Regions from separate parts of the Homo sapiens genome. Here region 1 is linked to region 2. Evidence: promoter capture Hi-C in 16 types of primary human blood cells and fetal thymus (Javierre and others, 2016). All regions are on one chromosome and are shown on one strand. The core of a region is centred on a gene start or on the middle of the fragment in contact, and the rest is flanking DNA. Distances in the headings are between cores, read along the strand shown.

Region 1 (6,569 bases), core at 1,881-4,380, 260 kb after region 2:
TGTCTGAAGCAGCAGCCTAAGCTGTACCTGGGTCCCTTTGAGCCATGGCTGGAGTTAGACAGCTGGGACACAGAGAGCAGTGTCCTGAGGCTGCATGGGGCAGCAGACCCTGGGCCTGGCCCACAGAACCATTTTGTTTTCTTGGGCTTACAGGCCTGTGATGGGAGGGGCTGCTGCCAAGGTCTCAGAAATGCCTGCAAGGCCTTTTCCCTAGTGTCTTGGCTATCAGTACTTGGCACCTTTTTACTTATGCAAATTTCTGCAACCTGCTTGAATTCCTCCCCTGAAAATGGGCTCTTCTCTTCTACCACATGGCCAGGCTGCAAATTTTTCAAGCTTTTACTGTCCATTTCCCCTTTAAATATAAGTTCCAGTTTTACGTCATGTCTTTGCTCATGCGTATGAGCATAGGTTGTTAGAAGCAGCCAGGCTACATCTTGATTACTTTGATGCTTAGAGATTTCTTCTGCCAGATATACTAAATCATCACGCTCAAGTTCAAAATTCCGTAGATCCCTAGGACAGGGGCAGAAGGCCACCAGGTTCTTTGCTAATGCATAACAAAAGTGACCTTTGCTCCAGTACCCAATAAGTTCCTCATCTCCATCTGAGACCTCTTCAGCCTGGACTTCACTGTTTATATCACTATCAGTATTTTGGTCACAACCATTTAACCAGTCTCTAGGGAGTTCCAAATTTTCCCTCATCTTCCTGTCTTCTTCTCAACCCTCCACACTCTTCCAGCTTCTACCAGTTACCAAATTCCAAAGCTTCTTACATATTTTAAGGTATCTTTATAGCAGTGCCCAACTCTTCAGTACTAATTTTTTGGCTATGATGTAATCCAGTATAACACAACTGTAATCATGATAGTGACTATACGTCACCTTGGCCATGTAATGTAACCTAATCAGTGGAGTGGCTATCCCATCATATTACAGATTCCAGGCCCCTGAGGGTAGAGAATTATACAAGGGTGTGGTGGCTCATGCCTGTAGTCCCAGCTGCTCAGGAGGCTGAGGTGGGTGGATCACTGGAGCCCAGGAGGTCAAGGCTACAGGGTGAGCCAAGATTGTGCCACTGCACTCCAGCTTGGGTGACAAAAATGAAACCCTGTCCAAAAAAAAAAGAAGAAGGAAGATACATTTTCAAATTACAAATTTTTTTCAGTAAAAGAGACTACACACATCAGCTACTTTTATACCACCTAGCAATGACACATCATGAAAGGACAATTACAGGGAGTTTTACTCATTATTATAGTTCCAGAAATCCTAAAAAAAATATTAGCAAATGGAATAATACATTATGACTAAAGTTGGGTTTATAACACAAAATGCAAAGTAGATTTAATATTAGAAAGTTAGAATAGTTTACCATTAATGAACTAAAGGAGAAAAATCTTAAAATCATCTCGATTGAGCAAAAATGACATTTAATAAAATTTAACAACTATTCATAAGAACTCTTAGCAAAACAACAATAGAAAAGAATTTCTTTACTCTGATTAGTGATATCTACAAAAACCCATCGACAAATATATGTAATGGTGAAAAGCTTTCCCTTTTAGATGAGGACCAAGGCTGGGATGTCCATTATTATCCTTGCTATTCCACATTGTATTGGAGGTCTCAATCAATACAGTAATCAATACAGTAAGGTCTCAATCAATACAAGAAAATATGTAAGGATTAGAAAATTAAAACTTCACAAGTGATGTGATCATTTAGAAAATCCAGTAAAAACTTTACAGGCATTGAGTTTAGCAAGTTGCTAGATAACAAGATCCATAAACAAAACCTAATTGCATTTCCATAGATCAACAATAAACTGAAAGCAAATTTTTTGAGATACTGTTTACAATAACAAAATGTAATAACCTAGGAGTAAATCTTTTAAAAGATGTGTAAAACATCTAAAAAGTAAACTATAAAGCTTTATTAGGAGAAATTTAAGAATAATCTAAAGTAGATATATACTACGTTTCTGGAGTTGGAAAACTGGTTTGTATGGTGTTAACTTTTACCCTAAATTCCTTTATAGATTCAATGTAATTCCAGTTTTAAAAATCTTGTGAAGCCTGGGCAACATGATAAGCCCCATCTCTACAAAAAATTTGAAAATTAGCTGGGCGTGGTGGCACATGCCTGTGGTCCCAGCTACTTGGGAGACTGAAGCAGGGAGGATCACTTGAGCCAGGAATTCTAGATTGCAGCGAGCTGTGATCACACCCCTGCACTCCAGCCTGGGTGACAGAGCAAGACCCTGTCTGTCTGTCTTTCTCTCTTTCTTTCTAGGTATCTATATATTTGTATATATTAGGATAGCCAAAAACTCTTTTAGAAACCTAATTTAGGAGGACTTGCTCTGTCAGCTATTAAGGCTCTTTATAAAACTATATTAATTGAGACAAAGTGGTATTAGTGTTAGAAATAGACCAATGGAACAGAATAAAGAGTCCAAAAACAGACCTGTGCATATATGTACATTTTACTTATGATAAAATTGACACTGCAGAGTGGTGGGGAAATTAAGATCTTTTCAATAAATGATCCTGGCTCATCTGGAGATCCATATGGAAAAATAAAGTGGAAGTGGATTATTTCTTAACAATTTACATAAAAATGAATTCCATCTAAATTGTAGACCTACGTGTAAAACACCAAATAGTAATAATACCACTTTTAGAATATATTATAGCATCTTCATGACCTGAGGATAAAGAAGTAATTATTAAATCAAATAGAAAAAGCACCAATTATAAAGAAGAAAAAGGTGATAATGTTTATTAATATTAATAACTTCTGTTTGTCAAAAGACACTACTGAAAGTGCAAAAAGTCAAGCTATATAAACCAACAAAGAAATTATACCAGAATATTTCAAGCATCCCGACAAATTGAGAAAGACAAAGCCCAATAGAAAAATGGGCAGAGACTTAATAGGCACTTCACAAAAGAATATAACCAAATGGCTGTATACATTTAAAGAGGTGCTCAGCCTTATCAAGGAATCCCAAGTTAAAACCACAACAATGGGGCCAGGCGCGGTGGCTCACGCCTGTAATCCCAGCACTTTGGGAGGCCGAGGCAGGTGGATTACGAGGTCAGGAGTTCAAGATCAGCCTGGCCAGGATGGCGAAACCCCATCTCTACTGAAAATACAAAAAATTAGCCGGGATGGTGGCGGGCACCTGTAATCCCAGCTACCTGGGAGGCTGAGGCAGAGAATCGCTTGAACCCGGGAGGCAGAGGCTGCAGTGAGCCGAGATTGTGCCACTGCACTCCTCCAGCCTGGGTAACAGAGCAAGACTCTGTCTCAAAAAAAAAAAAAAAAAAACCCACAAGATACCCCCACATAATCTCCAGATTGGCTAAGATTTAAAATCAGATGATACTAAAGTTGTCAAGCATATAGAGCAATGGGAACTCCTACATTGCTAGTGGGAGTAAAAACTTGTACAGTTTCATTGGAGAACACTTTAGCATTATCTAATAAAATTGAAAGTAATGCTAACCCAACATAAATACATGCTTATGTACATGAGGATGCATGTACAAGAATAAACAAGCATCCATAATGGCCCCAAAATGGATACAACCTGGAAAAAAATCAGTAAAATGAGTTTTAAAAAAGTGACATCATCATGTAGTAAAATGAACAAACTACAGTGACACACAGCAACATTAATAAATCTTTAAAATATAATATTTAGTAAATCAAACTAAAAAGTATATCTTCTTATACTATTTATATAAAATTCAAGAAAAGGAAAAAGAAAACATGTTGAGATATGCACATTTCAGTGCTAAAACTAAATAAAAGCAAGGAATGTTTACCCCGGAAATAGGTATAGTGGTTATCTATAGGGTGAAAGGAATTGGGATCAGGATGGAGTATTTGGGGAATCATTTGTTGCAGACAATGTTCTAATTCTTGCTATGGCGGTATTATAATTCATTAAACTCTACATTTATGTTTTATGCTATTCTCTGTGGGGCATCATATTTCACAATAAAATAAAGGCATATATTGAAGACATTTTTATTTCATCATATCTATACTTGTTATCCTTAAAGGCTGCATCTTATTCCATTGTAGATTTATCTGTTCCCCTCCTTTTGAATAGTTGGAGTGTTTTTGTTTTTTGCAGTTGCCAACTTTGAGTTAAGCATCTTTGTACATATATCTGTGTTCATTTGCTTGTGCTGGTATTTCTGTAGGATTGGTTTCCAGAAATAGAATCAAAAGATAATTTGCATTTCATATTTTGATAGATGCTGTTAAATAGCCTTGCAAATTTGTTCAGCCTGTCTTTTGCTATTTGAAGCTTTTAATTTTTTATTGTTCAATCTGTCTCTCTTTTCCATTGTAATTTCTCGCTTTTGTGTCATGCTTAGAAAGCCTTTTTCAACTTCAGTTTATGTCTTTATCCGGAATTTATTTTTGGTTATGTGAAATGAGATTTTTTTTCAGCCATATAGCTAGTTGTTTCAGTGCTTTTTTTTTTTTCGAATGGTCAGTTCTTTGCACAGTGATGTAAAAGCTACCCTTTATCATCAGCTAAATGTCTATATGTCTTTTTCTACTCTACTGATCTATTTCTATATCAATGTCACAGTATTTTAATGATTATAGATTTTAATGTTTTTCTCTTACTGATATAGGGAATTCTAATTAGTTTTTCCTTTCAAAAGGTATTTGGCCTTTTATTCATGTACTTACTTTTCCAAATGAATGGTAGTATCAAGTCCCTCTGTACTCTCAGCCAAAAACAAAAAACAAAAAACATGTGTTGACATTTCAGTTGGAATTACAATGAATGTATAGATTATTTGGGAGATAATTTACTTTCATACACATTTTTAAATTTTAGTCATTTTTAACTTTATATAAAGAGCATGTTTTATATATTCTTTTGAACTTTTTCCATGTAAATATTATATTACTCATATCTCTCCATATTTTTGCTATAGTTTATTTGACTACTGTATAATTTTTACATTGTTTGAATATAACAACAAATTTAGATTAAGAGTTGTGGTTGGGGTTGGTATTCAAGTTCAGTCTCTTATTGAAGTATATTTTTTAAACAAAAAACAAGGCCAGGTGTGGTGCCTCACACCTGTAATCCCAGCACTTTGGGAAGCTAAGGAAGGCGGATCACTGGAGGTCAGGAGTTCAAGACCAGCCTGGCCAATGTGGCAAAACCCAGTCTCTACTAAAAATAAGAAAATTAGCCAGGCGTGGTGGCATGTGCCTGTAATTCCAGCTACTCAGGAGACCAAGGCACAAGAATTGCTTGAACCTGGGAGGCGGAGGTTGCAGTAAGCCGAGAAGGCGCCACTGTTCTCCAGCCTCCGTGACAGAGTGAGACTCTGTCTCCTAAAAAAAAAAAAAAAAAAAAAAAAAAAAAGGAAAGGAAACAAACAAGAAGTATTGACTATAAAAGACTGGTGGGGTTGGCCATTATATTAAAATTATAAACTTCTGTCCATCTATAGACTTTAAGTAAAGAAGGTAAAAAGACCAGTTAGAAACTGAGAAATGATATTCACAAGACCCACAATTTTTCACAGGATTACTATCAAGGACATACAAAGAACTGCTATCTATTAATAGGCTGAGCATGACCAACTCAATAGAAAAGTGGGCAAGAGATATAAAGAAGACTTTCACAAAAGCATAACATATATACCCATAGACTTATGAAAAATGTTCGGTATTACTGGTAGTCAGGATATGCAAAATCAACCATCTTATCTTCATTCCATGAGAAACACTAAAAATTCTGACAATACCAAGTATTAATATTGAGCAGAATGTAGATGACTCAGGATTTCATATATCCTGCTGGTGGGAAAAAGTTTGGCATTGCTGAAGTTGAACATTTATATACCCTAAGCCCAGAGATTCTATTCCTATGTATATACCAAAGAGGAATTCCTACAAAGGATAAAAGAAGACATTTGCAAGGATGTTCACAGCAGCACTGACACCAATAGCAAAACTCTTAACAAAGGAAATACAATATACTTCAATAAGAGACTGAACCTGAATACCAACCCCAACCGCAACTCTTAATCTAAATTTGTTGTTATATTCAAACAATGTAAAAATTATACAGTAGTCAAATAAACTACAGCAAAAATATGGAGAGATATGAGTAATATAATATTTAAATGGAAAAAGTTCAAAAGAATATATAAAACATGCTCTTTATGTAAAGTTAAAAATGACTAAAATTTAAAAATGTGTATGAAAGTAAATTGTCTCCCAAATAATCTATACATTCGTTGTAATTCCAACTGAAATGTCAACACGTTTTTTGTTTTTTGTTTTTGGCTGGGAGTACAGAGGGACTTGATACTACCATTCATTTGGAAAAGTAAATACATTAATAAAAGGCCAAATACAGGATTTTGTCAGTTGCCTTTTCAGCATGTACTGATATAATCATTTTGTTTTTACCTTTTAATCTCTTAATACAGTGTCATAATGATGTTGTATTAAAATATTTATTCATTTCTCCCAAGTCACAAAAGTAAAGCCAGGAAACTTAAATATAGC
Region 2 (7,137 bases), core at 2,804-5,303:
TAAAATCTGGGTTGGCTCTGGGGAGATACCACTGGTGTAAGTTCAAGTAGGATTAACTGCCTCCCAGCAATGCAAATTGGTTTCCAACTTTTTTGTTTTGTTTTTTCTTCAATATTTTTTGGGATATTTTTCTTAAATGATAATAATTTGCAAAAACCATGAAATATTATTTTTGGTTCTACAAATGTCAGAACACCAAAGAAAAACACTCTTCAGGAATCCAGATCTATTAATGAAATTAAAAATTAGGGGACTTGAGTTTTAATCTCAATCTCCTAAGTAGCCATGTTTAGGTAGGTTGCTTAATACAATTCTATGCTTAATTTTTTTTTTAAATTCTCTAAATGATGATTTTAAAATACTGGTTCTACTTATCTCACAGAATTATTGTTCAGGTTGTGAAAGTATTTTCTTTCTTTCTTTTCTTTTTTTTGAGACAGGGTCTCATGCTGTTGCCCAGGCTGGAATGTAGTGGTGCAATTATGGTTCACTGCAGTCTCAAACTCCTGGACTCAAGTGATTCTCCTGCCTCAGCCTCCTGAGTAGCTGGGACTACAGGTGTTTGCAACCAGGCCCAGTTAATTTTTTTCTATTTTTTTGTAGAGATGAGGGTCTCACTATGTTGTCCAGGCTGGTCACAAACTCCTGGGGCTCAAGTGGTCCTCCTGCCTCAGCCTCTAAAAGCACTATGATTATAGGTGTAAGCCACCATGCCTGGCCTGTGAAAGTATTTTATTTTTAAGTTATGAACACTAGATAAATTTCAGACATACTATTACTTAGGCAATTAGATAATGACCTGCTGCTAGTCTGGGGTCAGGATAGGGAGGTGAAGCAGGGACCAGTATCTGGAACGTTTGGATTTAAAAAGTAGGATTATTGAAAATGGATTAAAGACTTAAATGTAAAACCCCAAACCATAAAAACCCTAGAAGAAAATCTAGGCAATACCATTCAGGACATAGGCATGGGCAAAGACTTCATGACTAAAACACCAAAAGCAATTGCAACAAAAGCCAAAATTGACAAATGGGATCTAATCCAACTAAAGAGCTTCTGCACAGCAAAAGAAACTATCATCAGAGTGAACAGGCAACCTACAGAATGGGAGAAAGTTTTGCAATCTACCCATCCGACAAAGGTCTAATGTCCAGAATCTACAAGGAACTTAGACAAATTTACAAGAAAAAAACAAACAACCCCATCAAAAAGTGGGCAAAGGATATGAACAGACACTTCTCAAAAGAAGACATTTATGCAGCCAATAAACATATGAAAAAAAGTTCATCATCATTGGTCATTAGAGAAATGCAAATCAAAACCACAGTGAGATACCACCTCACGCCAGTGAGAATGGTGATTATTAAAAAGTCAGGAAACAACAGATTCTGCCAAGGCTATGGAGAAATAGGAATGCTTTTACACTGTTGGTGGGAGTGTAAATTAGTTCAACCATTGTGGAAGACACTGTGGCGATTCCTCAAGGATCTAGAACCAAAATACCATTTGACCCAGCAATCCCATTACTGGGTATATACCCAAAGGATTATAAATCATTCTACTATAAAGACACATGCACATGTATGTTTATTGCAGTGCTATTTACAATAGCAAAGACTTGGAACCAACCCAAATGCCATCGATGATAGACTGGATAAAGACAATGTGGCACATATACACCATGGAATACTATGCAGCCATAAAAAAGAATGAGTTCATGTCATTTGCAGGGACATGGATGAAGCTGGGAGCCATCATTCTAAGCAAAGTAACACAACAGAAAACCAAACTCTGCATATTCTCACTTATAAGTGGGAGTTGAACGATGAGAACACATGGACACAGGGAGGGTAATATCACATACTGGGGCCTGTCGGGGCGTGGGGGAAAGGGGAGGGAGAGCATTAGGACAAATATCTAATGAATGCAGGGCTTAAAACCTAGATGACGGGTTGATAGATGCAGTAAACCACCATGTTTACTGTAACCACCATGTTACATAGGTATACATAGGCACATGTATACCTATGTAACAAACCTGCATGTTCTGCACATGTATCCCAGAACTTAAAGTTAAAAAAAAAATAGTAGGATTACTAAAAAAGCAGGATTACTGGCGGTTGGCAGAGGCCTTTTCTTGAGCTCAGGAATGGATGATGCCACTGAAAGAGCAGATGTGGAAATAAATTCTGGAAATGTTTCGCATACCACTTGTAATGCTGTTTTTAAGATAATTGCTTGGGTAAATAAATTCCTTATACATTGACTAGTAAAGAGATACTCAACTTTGTACATTTGATGCCATATTCACTTGCTGTCTAACTTATGTTACCATGGCATTAATTTAGTATAAATAAAAATGCTCTAGGTCTACTCAGTGCTGAGCCTTGAAATCTCAGCACTCAACATCTCTTATCCACTAAAGCACACACTGTTGTTTACACGTGGAAGACTGACTATGCAGCCAGTCTAGTAAGCAAGCAAGCAAGCAAGCAAGCAGGGTCCTAGATATTAAAAATGACCATTCCTGTAAACCATCAAGCCACAAATCAACAAGCTTAATCACAAAAGTTTCTTGAGGGAACAAAGTTGAAGTAATATCCATTGAGTCATTGTGGAACTATCTGTACTTGTGGTTGATTAGCCAGGTAAGCTGGTTTTTCCTCAGTTTCCTCACCTGTTAAACAAGAGGCAGAATGATGTTCTCTCTAAAACACTTCTTGCTTTGAAATACTATTACTCTAAATAAGACTTTGGAGAAACTCACAAAATACATCCTTGTTAACTCTCAATAAGCCCAAACAATATTCCAGGACCCCACAAAACCAGAAAACTAACAGGACCCCTTGTAGACCAGTCTCTTTGTGCAACGTAGGGAGAAAGGGCGGGGGGGACTAAAGAACCTCCCAAAAGGTATTAAAAATAGCAACATGTAATTATGAAAAATCTTGTTCCACATTAGGTAGCCACATTCAAGAAAAACTGTTGGAGATCTACTATGTCCAAGGCACGGTTTAAGTTATTACTGTTCAATTTTGAAATTATTATTGTTAACTTGTCAGTAATTTCTTAAACCTAAACTGGTGAAACTCTCCTTGGGTGGACATAAAAGTAAAGCCATGGCCAAGGAGGGAGACAGTCTACAAATAAACCAAAAATAAAATACAAGTGACATCATTAAAGGAAAAAAGCCAACACACTGCACAAAGATCAAAGACAAAACAGAGAAACATGTTTGGTTAATACTGGGCTTTGAGTATTTCATGTGCCTGAGAGGCCCGTCCGTCCATCCACACCACACTTCTTCACCATGCTGTTGCAAACCAATGACAAGTTCAGCTTCAGCGCGGACAGGGCGCAGGGCGCAGACCCTGTGCATATCCCAGAATCCCGGACCCACTGCCACTCCACTCTGGGAAGGAAGAAGGCGCTCCCCCTTGGGTGACTGTAAGATAAAGCAGCTTCTTCGATCTCTTTGTCCAATAAGAAAGAAACGTTGGCCCATAAAGAAAGAAAGAAACAAATAAATAGGAAAGGTGTGAGAAGGAAGGGAAGCTCCTTTCTTTTCTGTTTAAATTTCCCGCACCCTTTTACCTCCCCGCCTTCTCAAACGGTCTTTACTTTGAGCAGCAGAGACCCGGACCGCTCAATACCCGGCTATCCCTGGGAGGGTACTTGGAAAGTAGGCGGGACAGGCCGGATGAATAATTCGGTGTCCGACTTTTCCTGCCTGCGGCGCAGTCCCTCCCCGGCTTCGTTACTCGAGTGCACACGCGGCCGGGCTCTCGGCCCTCGATTGCTTCAGCCTATCACCCTGGGATGCCGCCTGCCGCTGCCGCCGCCGCCGCCGCCGCCACCGCCACCGCCACCGCCACCGCCACCGCCGTGGCTGCCGGGTTTGTGGGATCCGCCGCGGAGCAGGAGCCAGAGCTGTGGCCGGAGCTGTGGCCTGAGAGTCAGGGGGCGGGCAGGCTCATTCCAGAAGTGGGGGCCGAGGACAGGCGGGCTAGAACCCGGGGCCACCGCCCCCTACCCCTCCTCAGGCTGAGGGAACGGGCACTCGGAGCTTCTGAGGCGGCGGCGGCGGGAGCCGGTCAGAGGGGGCGGCCCCTGGCGGCGACGCCCCCAAGCCCAGCCCTGCCCGGCCCCGCTCCATCCCCAGCCAGAGCCTGGTCTGACCGCGAGAGACGCCGGCGGGGCTGAAGAAGGCGGCTCCGAGGAGGTGGGAGGGCGAGCCTCCCCTCCCGGGTTCTTCTGCGTCCTCTCCCGGGAGGGACCCACACACACCTGAGCCCGGACCCACCCTTGGTCGGGGCCACGCTGGATCCTCCTCCCGGCCTGGGTCCCGCCCGCCGACTGCAGGTGGGCTGCATCGCCCGAGCCTCGGGCAGTGGGCGACGGGGAAGGAGGTGAGAGGTGTCCGCGCCGGCTGCCGCTCGGGTCCCTGCCCTCGCTGCGCGCTCTCCTCCTCCCCTTACCGCAGGCAGGGCGCGGAGCCGCGCGCCAGCCCGCCCCGAAGCCGCCGCCTCGTCCCCCTCCCGCCTCGGGGCACCATGGAGCTCTCTCCGTCGTCCGGAGGAGCCGCGGAGGCGCTGTCCTGGCCGGAGATGTTCCCGGCGCTGGAGTCCGACTCGCCGCTGCCCCCGGAGGACCTGGACGCGGTTGTCCCAGTCAGTGGAGCCGTCGCCGGTGGCATGTTGGATCGGATCCTTCTGGAGTCCGTGTGCCAGCAACAGAGCTGGGTCCGGGTGTACGGTAAGGACCACAGGCCGTCTTAGAGGCTGGTGTTTCCTATTTTTGCTTGGGCTGAAATTCATTCCCTAAGTCACAGGCTCATTCCCAGTCCTCATCCGTGCTAGGTCAGTTTCCCACATCCCTTTTTGTTCTGGGGGTGCATTTCTGACAAGTTTCTTCAGACTATCACTTGGGCAGGGATGTCACTCAGTATGGTCTTTGGACCTCTTCAGACACCTGCAGTAAGTTTAATGCGGGAGTTGGGCTATCCAAGACGTAATTCTTAGGCGATTACTTCAAGGGAACAGCCAGGCAATCAATCTTCAAGAAGGTATGATGGAAAAACTCCATGAAACCAAGTGAATGGATTTTCGTCTCTTTTTATTGTTGAATGAGGCAAGACTGGAAACCAAGATATTATGAAAAAGCAGAGGATAAGCTAATGAATGAAAAAAATGCAAACTATGTATTTGGTGGGAGCAAGACTAATCTATAACCTCTGCCTGAACCTCACTCTCTCTAAAAGCAACCACTTATTCCAACGGGTGTGGATTGTTTCAGATTACACTATTGTTTCTGAATCTCGTTGTAAAGTGACTGGGTTGCCACTCAGCAGGTTAAAAGTGATGAACACACTAAAACTTTCCCTTTCTGCATTCCTGGTAACCACCTCTTTAATTAAAACTGAATGATGAGATTCTATTAGGGTGAGCCTTGTGGCAGCACTAAAACCATGCTGGTTTTGAAAACTCATAGCTTAAGGATTTATAGCCTGGCATTCAGGACTGAGCTGTGGCTTTCCAAAATATTGAAACGGCAAGATGTTTATCGCCTAGCTCACGTGACTGCAGAAGACATTAGTAACGTGGCTGAGTATAAGATGGCAAATTTGAAGCACCTGGGATCAAACACAATGTTAAGATGTTATCCTGCAGTCTTGTGCATCTAAGCCTGTAGTGATCAAGTACCTTATGTTTTTTTCTTTCATCTTTCTGAACAGGGTATATGCTTACTATTCAAGAGTGACCAAGACTTAGGTTTTTTTCTGTGTAGTTCAGTTGATTTGAAGACTTAATGTCCATCGCAAAGATCATAGAACTAGGAGTCCAGAGATCTCAGTTCTTGTCTCAGTTCTACCACTAAATGGCTATGGGATTTGGGGCAGATCGAGTCACATTTTTGGCTTGTGATTCCTCATCTGTAAAGTGAGTGGATTGGATTAAATCATCACTAGTGACCCTTTTAATCATAAAAATCCAGGAATTCTTCTTATAACCAGTTCTTAAGGATTTGTGTACCACTTTGTATTTTGCTGGCTGTTTCTTGATGTTACTCTACGTACCGGAAGATTTAAAGCAAAGGAGTGGGAGACGATGCAAGGTCACCCAGTTTGTTCTCAGCAAATTAGATTAAAAACTTTGGTGCCTGATTTTCCGTCTGCCTGCTAAATCCCACTTAGCTGGTCATTTAGAACAAAGGTTGGTGAGAATCTGAAAGTGCATATGAATTAGAGTATATTGTAGTTACAACGTTTTCCCATTCTATCATCTTTCTCTCCTTACACACTTCTTTGGCATACTGTTTATTTGTGTGATGTTAGAAATAGGGCCATGCTATTCTAAGAATACATGTATATGATAATTCGGTATTTCAGTATCCAAAACAATCTGGGTTCTCTGGACCTAGTGTTAACTATCGTTCTTCATTTGTAAGGACATAAAAGTCTACAAATGTATGTTGTTTTGTAGTCCATTCCTAGGGGTTGATTTGTGAAATATATATTGTATATTTTGTGTGTGTGTGTGTGTGTGTGTAAGAGAGAGAGAGAGTGAGAGCAAGTTTACATTATGTTTTTTTTCTTTCGTCCTTCTGAACAGGATATATGTTTATTGTTCAAGAGTGACCACGACTTAGAAGTTTTCTTTCTGCGTGGTTCAATTGATGTCAAGACTTCATATCAGACATCACAGAAATGCATGGTATGTATATGTGTGTGACACACACATATACATACCATGCCTTGCATTTTTGTGACCAATTGCAGACTTACCACTGCATTGTAACTTTTTTTGTTTTCTCTATCAATTAACCAGAAGTTGTTTTTATTTATTGTTTAGTATTGCTACTTTCCTTCCTCTGAGGCAGCTCATCCTGGATACTATTTTGTTGTCTTTAGTTTATGTAAATATTTCAGAACTATTGGAATGACTCTTGGCTATGTCCTTAGCTAGTTTTAAGTTGCCTATTGTATGAACAGGGTGTATGTTTGAAAACTTTGAAGTAAAAACTTTGAAATAAAAGTAATAGAATGTAGAAAAACAATTTGGAGAATACAGAATTTTTGTTTTTCTTGTTTCTTGTCTGTGTGTTCAAAACCTTCGTTGTCTTGGATCACCTAGGTTC

Evidence for each region. The method cuts DNA at HindIII sites, captures the fragments that hold promoters and counts their contacts. A CHiCAGO score of 5 or more calls a contact.
Region 1: a contact is called between a fragment that was not itself captured here and the fragment with the promoter of RASAL2-AS1 in region 2, in 1 of 17 cell types (M0 macrophages). The highest score is 5.4, in M0 macrophages.

The regions. Positions count from the first base shown.
Region 1 is chr1:178,352,852-178,359,420 of GRCh38, forward strand. All of the region lies in intron 3 of RASAL2 (RAS protein activator like 2), which reads left to right. Among named protein-coding and RNA genes, the nearest start is that of CLEC20A, 140 kb to the right of the region's middle. The HindIII fragment of the contact is 2,394 bases long and covers 1,934-4,327 here.
Region 2 is chr1:178,089,940-178,097,076 of GRCh38, forward strand. It overlaps RASAL2-AS1 (RASAL2 antisense RNA 1), which reads right to left and starts at 4,054. Exons shown (of 2, transcript NR_027982.1): 1 at 3,622-4,054; 2 at 1,569-3,473. RASAL2 (RAS protein activator like 2) reads left to right here and starts at 4,165. Exons shown (of 18, transcript NM_170692.4): 1 at 4,165-4,755. The coding sequence starts at 4,554. RefSeq lists an enhancer at 3,641-4,142 and silencers at 3,764-3,813, 3,864-4,163, 4,234-4,393, 4,544-4,603. The HindIII fragment of the contact is 4,675 bases long and covers 2,556-7,137 here.